2 separate regions of the Homo sapiens genome follow, and region 1 is linked to region 2. Evidence: promoter capture Hi-C in 16 types of primary human blood cells and fetal thymus (Javierre and others, 2016). All regions are on one chromosome and are shown on one strand. Each heading gives the region's core, a stretch centred on a gene start or on the middle of the fragment in contact. The rest is flanking DNA. Distances are from core to core; before and after follow the strand shown.

The links. The method cuts DNA at HindIII sites, captures the fragments that hold promoters and counts their contacts. A CHiCAGO score of 5 or more calls a contact.
Region 1: a fragment that was not itself captured here is called in contact with the fragment with the promoter of NXNL2 in region 2 in 2 of 17 cell types (erythroblasts and monocytes); the score reaches 5.2 in erythroblasts.

What each region holds. Positions count from the first base shown.
Region 1 is chr9:87,962,796-87,967,217 of GRCh38, forward strand. CDK20 (cyclin dependent kinase 20) reads right to left here. Exons shown (of 8, transcript NM_001039803.3): 8 at 3,646-4,422. LOC124902200 (a long non-coding RNA gene) reads left to right here and starts at 4,337. Exons shown (of 3, transcript XR_007061646.1): 1 at 4,337-4,422. The HindIII fragment of the contact is 1,630 bases long and covers 603-2,232 here.
Region 2 is chr9:88,531,748-88,536,480 of GRCh38, forward strand. NXNL2 (nucleoredoxin like 2) reads left to right here and starts at 3,431. Exons shown (of 2, transcript NM_001161625.2): 1 at 3,431-3,989. The coding sequence starts at 3,688. It overlaps LOC105376134 (a long non-coding RNA gene), which reads right to left and starts at 2,793. Exons shown (of 2, transcript XR_007061653.1): 1 at 2,267-2,793. RefSeq lists enhancers at 3,217-4,051, 4,052-4,733. The HindIII fragment of the contact is 6,313 bases long and covers 1-4,733 here.

The DNA of each region.
Region 1 (4,422 bases), core at 168-2,667, 570 kb before region 2:
AGAAGGCGGGGATGGCTTGAAGGAGATACCATAATCTGACCCTAGTAAGAACTGTAACTGCCCCACGGGTTTCCCAGAGATCATCCAATTTGGGACCCCCTTGTTCCTTAGGTTCTAGTATAACCTCTCTTGTACATCTTGGCAGGAGCATGGTTGTAGGTGGTTTGTTTGGCTTGCGGAAGGGAAGCAGCCTCATGGTCGATGGCAATTTTAAAAAGTCAGGCCCAGATAGGGAAAGAGCAAGACCCTGAGATGTGGGATTAGGACATTTGAGTGGGCAATCAGAGAATTTTGACCTCCCCGCTTCAGATTTCCTGAGGCCTCCTGATGGTCTTACATGAAGTATATGGGAGCCTTGGCTCTGTATGGCCCTAGGCCCTACTATAGCCTTTGCAAGGGGGAGGCAGGTCAGGCAGCATGGGCTGTGCCACCCTCTTCTCTCACCTGTTCCAGGGTGTCTGATGCTTCTTGCAGACAACTCTGGGTGCCCCAAGAACAGATGAGTCATAATGATAAACAATTTATCGTCTTTTAACCAATATGTGGGGGGTGGGGAGGGGTGGGCATGAGGCCAGGGGAGCATCCCTTGTCCCCAGGAGGGAAGCTTTGAATGGTGAACCAAGACTGGGGACTCTGGTCCCCACCTTGAAGCCTCCTTGCTTTGAGTAAGGCCACATTTCATGAGTTTTGGGGACCGTGACCTGCCAAGGATGGCAGATAGAGGGACGCAGTCTCCTGGGCCCAGGCCTGCCCAGTTTCCTCCAGTCCTACCACCTGGAGCAGGAGGGCCCAGCACCACGCTTGGCCTCAGGGCTCTTTCTCATGGGTGACCAGGTGACCACTCAGGTCCTGGAGCCTGGCCATCCCTGCCTCCTTGTATGAATGAGGGTGGTGGCTGGCCTGCCTACTCCTGCAGCCTCATCGCCAAGGTGACTGGTTGCTATTCAGGCCCCCTAAGGTCACTGACTTGGCCTTTTGGGGTTTGCACAGGTCCCAAGTAGCCATGCACTGCTCTGAGAGGGCTCGCCCTACCTTGGGCTAGATTCTAGTACTGGTCAGAGCTACAGGTGGCTCAGTCCCTTTGGTGATCACCTTGGCTGCTGGGGGCCCCAGGCTCGGGTTGAGGCCAGATCAAACCCCTCTGGATCTGGACCTTGTGCCGTGTTAGGGAGTTCTGTCCCACAGGAGGTCAGCATGAGGACACAAGACATCCTGCTGGCTGGCCAGAGCTATGAGGATGCCACACCCCCTCCCCTCCAGAGGCCTCCAAGTAGCCATCTTCCCAGTGGACGGTGGTTTCAGCTGGCTGAGGGGCCATCCGGGGCTTCTGGGCAGCTTGCGGGGTAGGCTGCTGTCCTGGCTCCTTCCAGAACATGCAGGTCAGTGAAACTGACAGGGATAGGACATGGGCCACTGTGAAGGGGAGGTGTCTTCGGCTCTTCCTGTGGATCTTCAGAAAGCTAGGCAGGGGTTGATGATGGGCCCCAGTGGGGTTGCAGGGCCAGTCTGTCCATGGTCCGGGAGGTAGCCAGGGCAGATGCTGAAGGGATGGGGGCCCAGCATTCCTGCCCGAAGCAGTACTGTGGGAACCAGGGGCCCTGACGTCAGGGTCTATGGGGAGGTTTGGGACTGAATTCCATTGCAGTAACCACCAAACAACTGGTGGTCTGTCCTGGGCTGGGGACAGGCTGGCCAGACCCTGAGCTCCTGGGGCTCCCAGAGCAAGGCCTGTGGCCCCAGGCTCTTTGGAGACCCTCATGCCACTAGGGGCCTCAGCCTTGGGAAGAGCCTGGCCAGGCAAGGGTCAGGGAGGACCACACTCCTGTTTTGTGGGGGCTACCCCTTATGGGGAGGCATGGTCTCACTCTTCGTCACCCAAGCTGAGTGCAGTGGTGTGATCACAGCTCACTGCTGTCTTAAGCGATCCTCCTACCTCAGCCTCTCATGTAGCTGGCACTACAGGCGCATGCCACCACACCTGGCTAATTTTTTTTGTAGAGATGGGGTCTTGCCGTATTGCCGAAGCTGGTCTCAAACTCCTGGACTTAAGCAGTCCTCCCACCTCGGCCTCCCAAAGTGTTGAGATTACAGGCATGAGCCATCACACCCGGCTGATTTTTCCTTTATTTTTGAAAGGTAACACAAGAATCATTATATAATTTTCATTTTTCTAATGTCCTTGTTGAATTTTAGTATCAAGACTACTGCTGGTGTCACAAAATAAGCTGAGTAAGCTTTCTCCTGTATTCTCTGGAATCGTGACACTGTCCATTTATTAAGTGATTGACTGGTAGAATTTAGTAGTGAAGCTATCTGGGCCTGGAGATTACATAATGAAAATATTTTAATTTGGAGGTTCAATTCCTTTTTAACAGTTTTAAGACACTTCAGGGGTTTGTTTTTTATTATTGCAAGTCGAATTTTTCTATGGATTTGTCAATTTTACCAAAATTTCGCATGTATAAAGTTACTTCTAATATCCTTAGTCTTTTGAATCCTATTCATTTCTAATATTGATAATATTTGAGATTAGGTACGTACAAATTTGAAAAATTTTACCAATGAACTGAATATAATTAGAACTGAATGTGTTTATCACTAGTAATGATTTTTGCCTTGAAATTGTATCTTATATTAAATAACAGCTCTTTGCCTTAAAATCTATTTTCTTTTTTTTTTTTTTTTTTTGAGACAAGTCTGTCACCAAGGCTGGAGTGCAGTGGCACGATCTCGGCTCACTGCAACCTCTGTCTCCCAGGTTTAAGCGATTCTCCTGCCTCAGTCTCCCAAGTAGCTGGGATTACAGGCATGCACCATCACACCCGGCTAATTTTTGTATTTTTATTAGAGATGGGATTTCACCATGGTGGCCAGGGTGGTCTCGAACTCCCAACCTCGGGTGATCTGCCCACTTTGGCCTCCCAAAGTGTTGGGATTACAGGCATGAGCCACTGCACCCGGCCTCTGTTATTTGATATCAAATAACTACACCAGATTTTTGGTTTGTGTATGCACGATAAATCATTTTTTCTCCTTTTACTTGCAAATGTTATATACATTTTAGAGTTCTCTTTGAAGTTCTCTTAGAAGCTTACAGTCTGCAGAAGATGTGGCTGGAGAAATAAACAGAGGCCATATCATGAAAACATCAGACTTTCCTGAAAGCCAAGAACGAGGGTTGAGTATGTTTTCTCTCTCCACTAAGTGCTTGAAGGCCAGCATCTGTAGCAGTGTTAGTCACCCTGAGTGCTCACAGAAGAGTTTATCCACATGAAGCATAAAATAAACATTTTAAAAATAAAGGGAGCCTGGGGCTGGGCATGGTGGCTCACGCCTACAATCCCAGCACTTTGAGAGGCCCGGGCAGGCAGATCACGAGGTCAGGAGATCAAGACCATCCTGGCTAACATGGTGAAACCCTGTCTTGAGTAAAAATACAAAAATTAGCCAGGTGTGGTGGCACGCGCCTGTAGTCCCAGCTACTCGGGAAGCTGAGGCAGGAGAATCACTTGAACCCAGGAGGCGGAGGTTGCAGTAAGCCGAGATTGTGCCACTGCACTCCAGCCTGGGCAACAGAGCAAGACTCCATCAAAAAATAAATAAAATAAAAATAAAGGATGGCTAAGAATAAGTTTCTCTAGTCTGTTTTTATCCTTGAACCACAATCATACTCTTTATTATTATACAAACTTTTAAATATTGGTATCTGATACCGTAAGTCCTTCCATCATTTCCTCTTCTGCATCTGGTTCCACTTCCTTCCATGTATCTTTTATAATCACCTTATCAAATTATAATAAGGAAAAAGCACTAGCTGGGATTATATTGGGATTTATTAAATTTATAAATTAATTCCAGGAACGCTTGTTTCCTTAAATACACAGCTGCTTCTGGCTCACGCTCATCCTGAGGGAGTAGATGTTGGTAAACCAGCCTCATGTGCAGAGGGTCTCCTGCTGGATCCCCAACTGGAGCCATCCCTGGGCCTAGACTTCTGTCTCCCTCACTTCTAAATGAGTGCTCAGTGATGTGAAGTACACAGGAGTCCCTCAGGGCAAAAGTGGCTATGCCTGGTGCTACCCTCCCCATGACCCCAAAAACGAGAGCCATGAGACAATGCCACCTTAGCCATTTCCCTTGAGAGAAATGAAGGAGGAACAGACATAAGGCAGAGCCACCTGAGGTTTTTAGAATCTATATCTCACATACTGAACTAGTGTTTAATGGCTCTGAGAATAAAACCAAACCAAATCTTCCTTCCACTTGAGTTTCCAACATAAGGACACCTTACTCTCTGCACTTCTCCTTGACCAGGAGGCAGCACTCGGGGAAGCAGCACCAAGGCAGGCATCGTCATTCTGCATATGCAGGCCTTGACTGGCAGCAGAGCTCACTGTCCTGATGGGTACGTCAGTAGCACAC
Region 2 (4,733 bases), core at 2,181-4,680:
AATAATAATAATAATAATAAAAACAATTAGCCTTGCATAGTGGCATGTGGCTATAGTCCTAGCTACTCAGGAGGCTGAGGCGGGAGGATCCCTGGAGCCCAGGAGTTGGAAGCTGCAGTGAGCTATGATCCCACTACTGCACTCCAGCCTGGGTAAGAGAGTGAGATTCAGTTTCTAAACAAAAAACAAAACAACAAAGACTGCAACCGCAGAACACTGAGCCCCAAGTGAGTGCAGGGCCCTGTGCCTCTGAGGGTCTGCATGCCTAGGAAGCCGCCCTGCCCCCGACATCGGCAGCAGGAAGTGCGATCCATTCCTGGATGGAGGTTGGGTGAGTTCCCCAGGGCAGGCAGTATTAATGCGAATGACCGTTAATTTTCTCGGGAGGGTGGCACCGTCAACTAATTAGGAATGCTGTCTACTTTGGCTCATTGTGTGTTCAAGGATAAGATGACAAAACAAAATAGTCTGGATGATTTTGAGAGCTTAGCTGCATTTCATTCCTCTTACCTCTGAGTTTTAACGTAAGTCAGGGGCCTCCTCATGCAAGATTTATACTGCTCACAGTTCCTCTCAATTTTTTCCTCCGATTTGTCTATCCATTTTCCCCAGAGGACAGTGAATCGGGGCTCTTGACAGCCTGCTTCACCTAAGAGCGCCAATCAATCCTCCCGCAGGGTTTCCACTGAGCTTTGGCTGCTAAGTACATTTACGCAACCGAGCCGACGGGCTGTGCCTGCAGGCAACGGCGTCCGCCAATTTCCGTTCATTTAACGGCGAGACTGGGGGAGCCCGGGCCGGCAGGCGGGTCCTCAGGAAGCGCAAATTTCACCTTCCCTGACTCCTCTCACCGCTAGATTAAAACTGCGCCCCTCGGTGGCTCAAGCCTGTAATTCCAGCACTTTGGGAGGCAGAGGTGGGTAGATCACCTGAAGTCAGGAGTTTGAGACCAGCCTGGCTAACATGATGAAACCCCGTCTCTACTAAAAATACAAAAATTAGCTGGGCGTGGTGGCACGCGCCAGTAATCCCAGCTACTCAGGAGGCTGAGGCGGGAGAATTGCTTGAACCCGGGAGGCGGAGGTTGCAGTGAGCCGAGATCACGCCATTGCACTCCAGCCTGGGCAACAAGAGCGAGACTCCATCTCAACCAACCAACCAAACCAAACCAAAATAAAACAAAACAAAAACCTGCGCCCCTCCTCATGGCTCTTCTTTTGGCATAGCACCTGCAAAATATCTTCCTTATTTATTGTTTGTGCCCGTTAGAACATAAGCTCCAGGCAGGCACAGGAGCAGGACTCAGGGGTCGGTGAACGTGACGGGAGTCCAAAGTCAGTGGGGGATCCATCTTGTCTTAGGAGAGCAAAGACCTTCTCTCTGTCCTCCCCAGTTCCATAGCTGGCTCTATGAAATTAACTGCCAACGGGCAGATGAACGGGGGGAACGGGAATACACATTTATTAATCTTTAATATCACCTGCATGGGGGCATTGCAGGAAACTAGGTGAAAACCCCCCAAACCAGTGAGCTTTGAGAGCTTCTAAAATTGGGGAACTGGAAGCTGGTGTAGGCCACTTAGGGGAGAGTAACTGATTTTTAGGAAAGATGCATAAGTCTTTATGAGTTTGTGACAAAGTTTGTCTAGGTGTGGTGTGGACTTCTGCTGTGATAAGAGTCCATCCTCCCGGGAGGGAATTTACGACAATCAGTTTCTTTTGGAGGTTCCGTCTTTAGACAGGTAAGGGGAGAACGTCTCTCTGCATTTGCTATTTTTCAAGTGCCTCTCGCTCAAAATAATCAATATACCAAAGCGGCATATTTTAGGATGGCATATTTTGGTTTCATTCACTGTCTTTAAGTTTTTGATATTTTGTTCATTATAAACTTTTTTTGCATTCATTTTGACTTTTTAAGATATTGTATTAAAACATTATTTACCTTGACTACTGAGTTTTTTTGTCGCGCCCTTAAATTTTGCCCCTATGCGAGTGCCTCGCTCGCTTGCCTCCTTCTAGCCCGGGTCTGGCAGGGAGTTGAAATTATTTTTCTCACTGCTGAATTCCCAGGGCCTACAACAGTGCTCGCCAAAAAATTAATACTCTTGGTTCTTCAAATAAAACATTCTGTAAGGACTGCTCCCAATTTCTTCCTGAACTTCACGAACCCTCCCAGCCAGGCCACAGGATGTCAGGGGCAAACACCCTGAACCAACGGAGCTCAGGTTCCCTACCACCCCGCCCAAGCCCGCTCCAAGCCCAATTACCCTTCCCCTTCCTCGTCGTCCCATCCTCCCTGATGCCTCTTCCAGGGTGCTGGGCCGCGCGGCAAGAGCTCCAAGGCAAGATTCAAATGCCCTGGGGAGACGGCTGCGGGACACCTGCGGCGGGGCCCGGCAGGGAGCGCGAGACTGGAAGAGAGGCCAGGAGGGAAGGAGAGCGACGCGGGGTTTTGGGGGAGGGGCTGCGTGGGGCGCTGAAGGGGAGCGCGAGGAGTGGGAGGAAGTGAAGGAGGAGGAAGAGCACGGTGTGGGGGAAGCGCAGGAGGCAATAGGTGGGGCGGGACGGAGGGCAGGGCGCTGCGTCGGGAGAAAGTGTAGAAGCGCTGGGGAGAGTGCCCACGACGGGAGAGCCCAGGGGCGCGAGGGCGCGGGAGTGTGGGCGGGGCGCAGTGGGGATGGGGGCGGGGGCGCGGGATGTGGTAGGGGGCGTAGTGGGGAGAGAGTGCAGGAGTGTGGGCAGGGCGCAGTGTGGGGAGGGTGCGGGAGTGTGAGCGGGGCGCAGTGGAGGGAGTGCAGGATGTGGGCTGGACAACCAGTGGGAGAGGGCGCGGGAGGTGGGCGGGGCGCAGTCGGGATGGGGGCGGGGGCGCGGGATGTCGGCGGGCCGCAGTGAGGGGGAGGGCGCGGGAGTGTGGGCGGGGCGCAGTGGGGGAGGGAGCGGGAGTGTGCGCGGGGCGCAGTGAGGGGAAACTGTGGAATGTGGGCGAGGCGCAGTTGGAGAAGAGTGCGGGGATGTGGGCGGGGCGCAGTGAGGGGAAACTGTGGAATGTGGGCGAGGCGCAGTTGGAGGAGAGTGCGGGGATGTGGGCGGGGTGCGGTGGGGGAGGGTGCGGAGATGTGGGCGGGGCGCAGTGGGTGGAGAGTGTAGGGATGTGGGCCCAGCGCAGTGGGGGACAGTGTGGGGATGCGGGCGAGGCGCAGTGGGGGCGGGGGCGGGGATGTGGGCGGGGCGCAGTGGGTGGAGAGTGCGGGATGTGGGCGGGGCGCAGTGGGTGGAGAGTGCGGAATGTGGGCGGGGCGCAGTTGGGGAGCTTGCGGGGAATGTGGGCGGGGCGCAGTGGTGGGAGGGCGCAGGAGTGTGGGCGGGGCGCAGTTGGGGGAGGGTGCAGAGACCTGAGGGCTTGAGGTTGCCTGGCTGGCCCCGCTCCCAGAGGCGGGTGCCGCGCTGTCGCCCAGGTATCTGGGGTCTCTGGTGTCTGAGTGTCTCATTGTCGGCGCGAACACAATTGCTCCAGCCACAGGCGAGGCCTGGCCAAGGTGTGGGCGCATCTGGGGCAGGTCTTGAGAGGTCCAGCGCCCGGTGGTGCGGACAGAGGCGGGGCACCGCGGCGCTCGCCGCCGCCTCCCCGCAGGTGATCATCCTCCTGCAGGTGTCCTCGGGTCTCAGGTGGCTGCGTGTCTGCGCCATGGTTGACATTCTGGGCGAGCGGCACCTGGTGACCTGTAAGGGCGCGACGGTGGAGGCCGAGGCGGCGCTGCAGAACAAGGTGGTGGCACTGTACTTCGCGGCGGCCCGGTGCGCGCCGAGCCGCGACTTCACGCCGCTGCTCTGCGACTTCTATACGGCGCTGGTGGCCGAGGCGCGGCGGCCCGCGCCCTTCGAAGTGGTCTTCGTGTCAGCCGACGGCAGCTCCCAGGAGATGCTGGACTTCATGCGCGAGCTGCATGGCGCCTGGCTGGCGCTGCCCTTCCACGACCCCTACCGGCAGTGAGTGGGGGTCCTGGGGGGGCGGGGGCCGCCCGGCACGTCTCCCCCATGTTCCCCCAGGCCTCCCCCTCTGCACTGGGGAGCTCTTTATGACGCCCCCCCCCAACACCTCCCCGTCTCTCGGTTCACGTCCGGACTCCGGTAAATCACACTCAGTCTCAGTTTCAACCTCTCTTGGAGACCAGGGAGGGTGCAGACCAGATTCGAAAACCCAGGGCATCGGCACCCCAAGGGGGCTCGTGGAGCATGGACGCGGGCGCGTTTCTGCCTGGGGTCTGGAGCTCCGGGAATCTGCATTGCGAAGGAGCTCCCAGTGGTGGTGATGCTGTGAGTTCGCGGGCTCGGCTCCGGGAACCGCCGGCCCAATCAGCCCTGGACTCCCGGCGCCGCTGCGTCATCCTCCCAGTTAGTGGGCAGGAAGCACAGGGACATGACCCGGTGTCTGGATGCGGGGATGAGGGATGACCCGCGAGGACATCAGCTCTGTGACAGGCACCCACAGTGCAGGCCGTGGTTGGTTTGCTGGGAGGGAGGGACGGGGGCTTCAAGGCTGGCAGGAACCCAGGTGCTGGCCACCTTTGCGGTTTCATTTTTACCGACACTGATGGAATTTCATCACTAGAGAAGCATAAAACTCATTACTATAAACTTTATTACTCTAACTGTTGCAAAGGAGGGGGTAGGGATTGGCAGAGAGGGGATTACAGGGATTGATTGTTCTGCTTTTGGGGTGGGTCTCCTGTG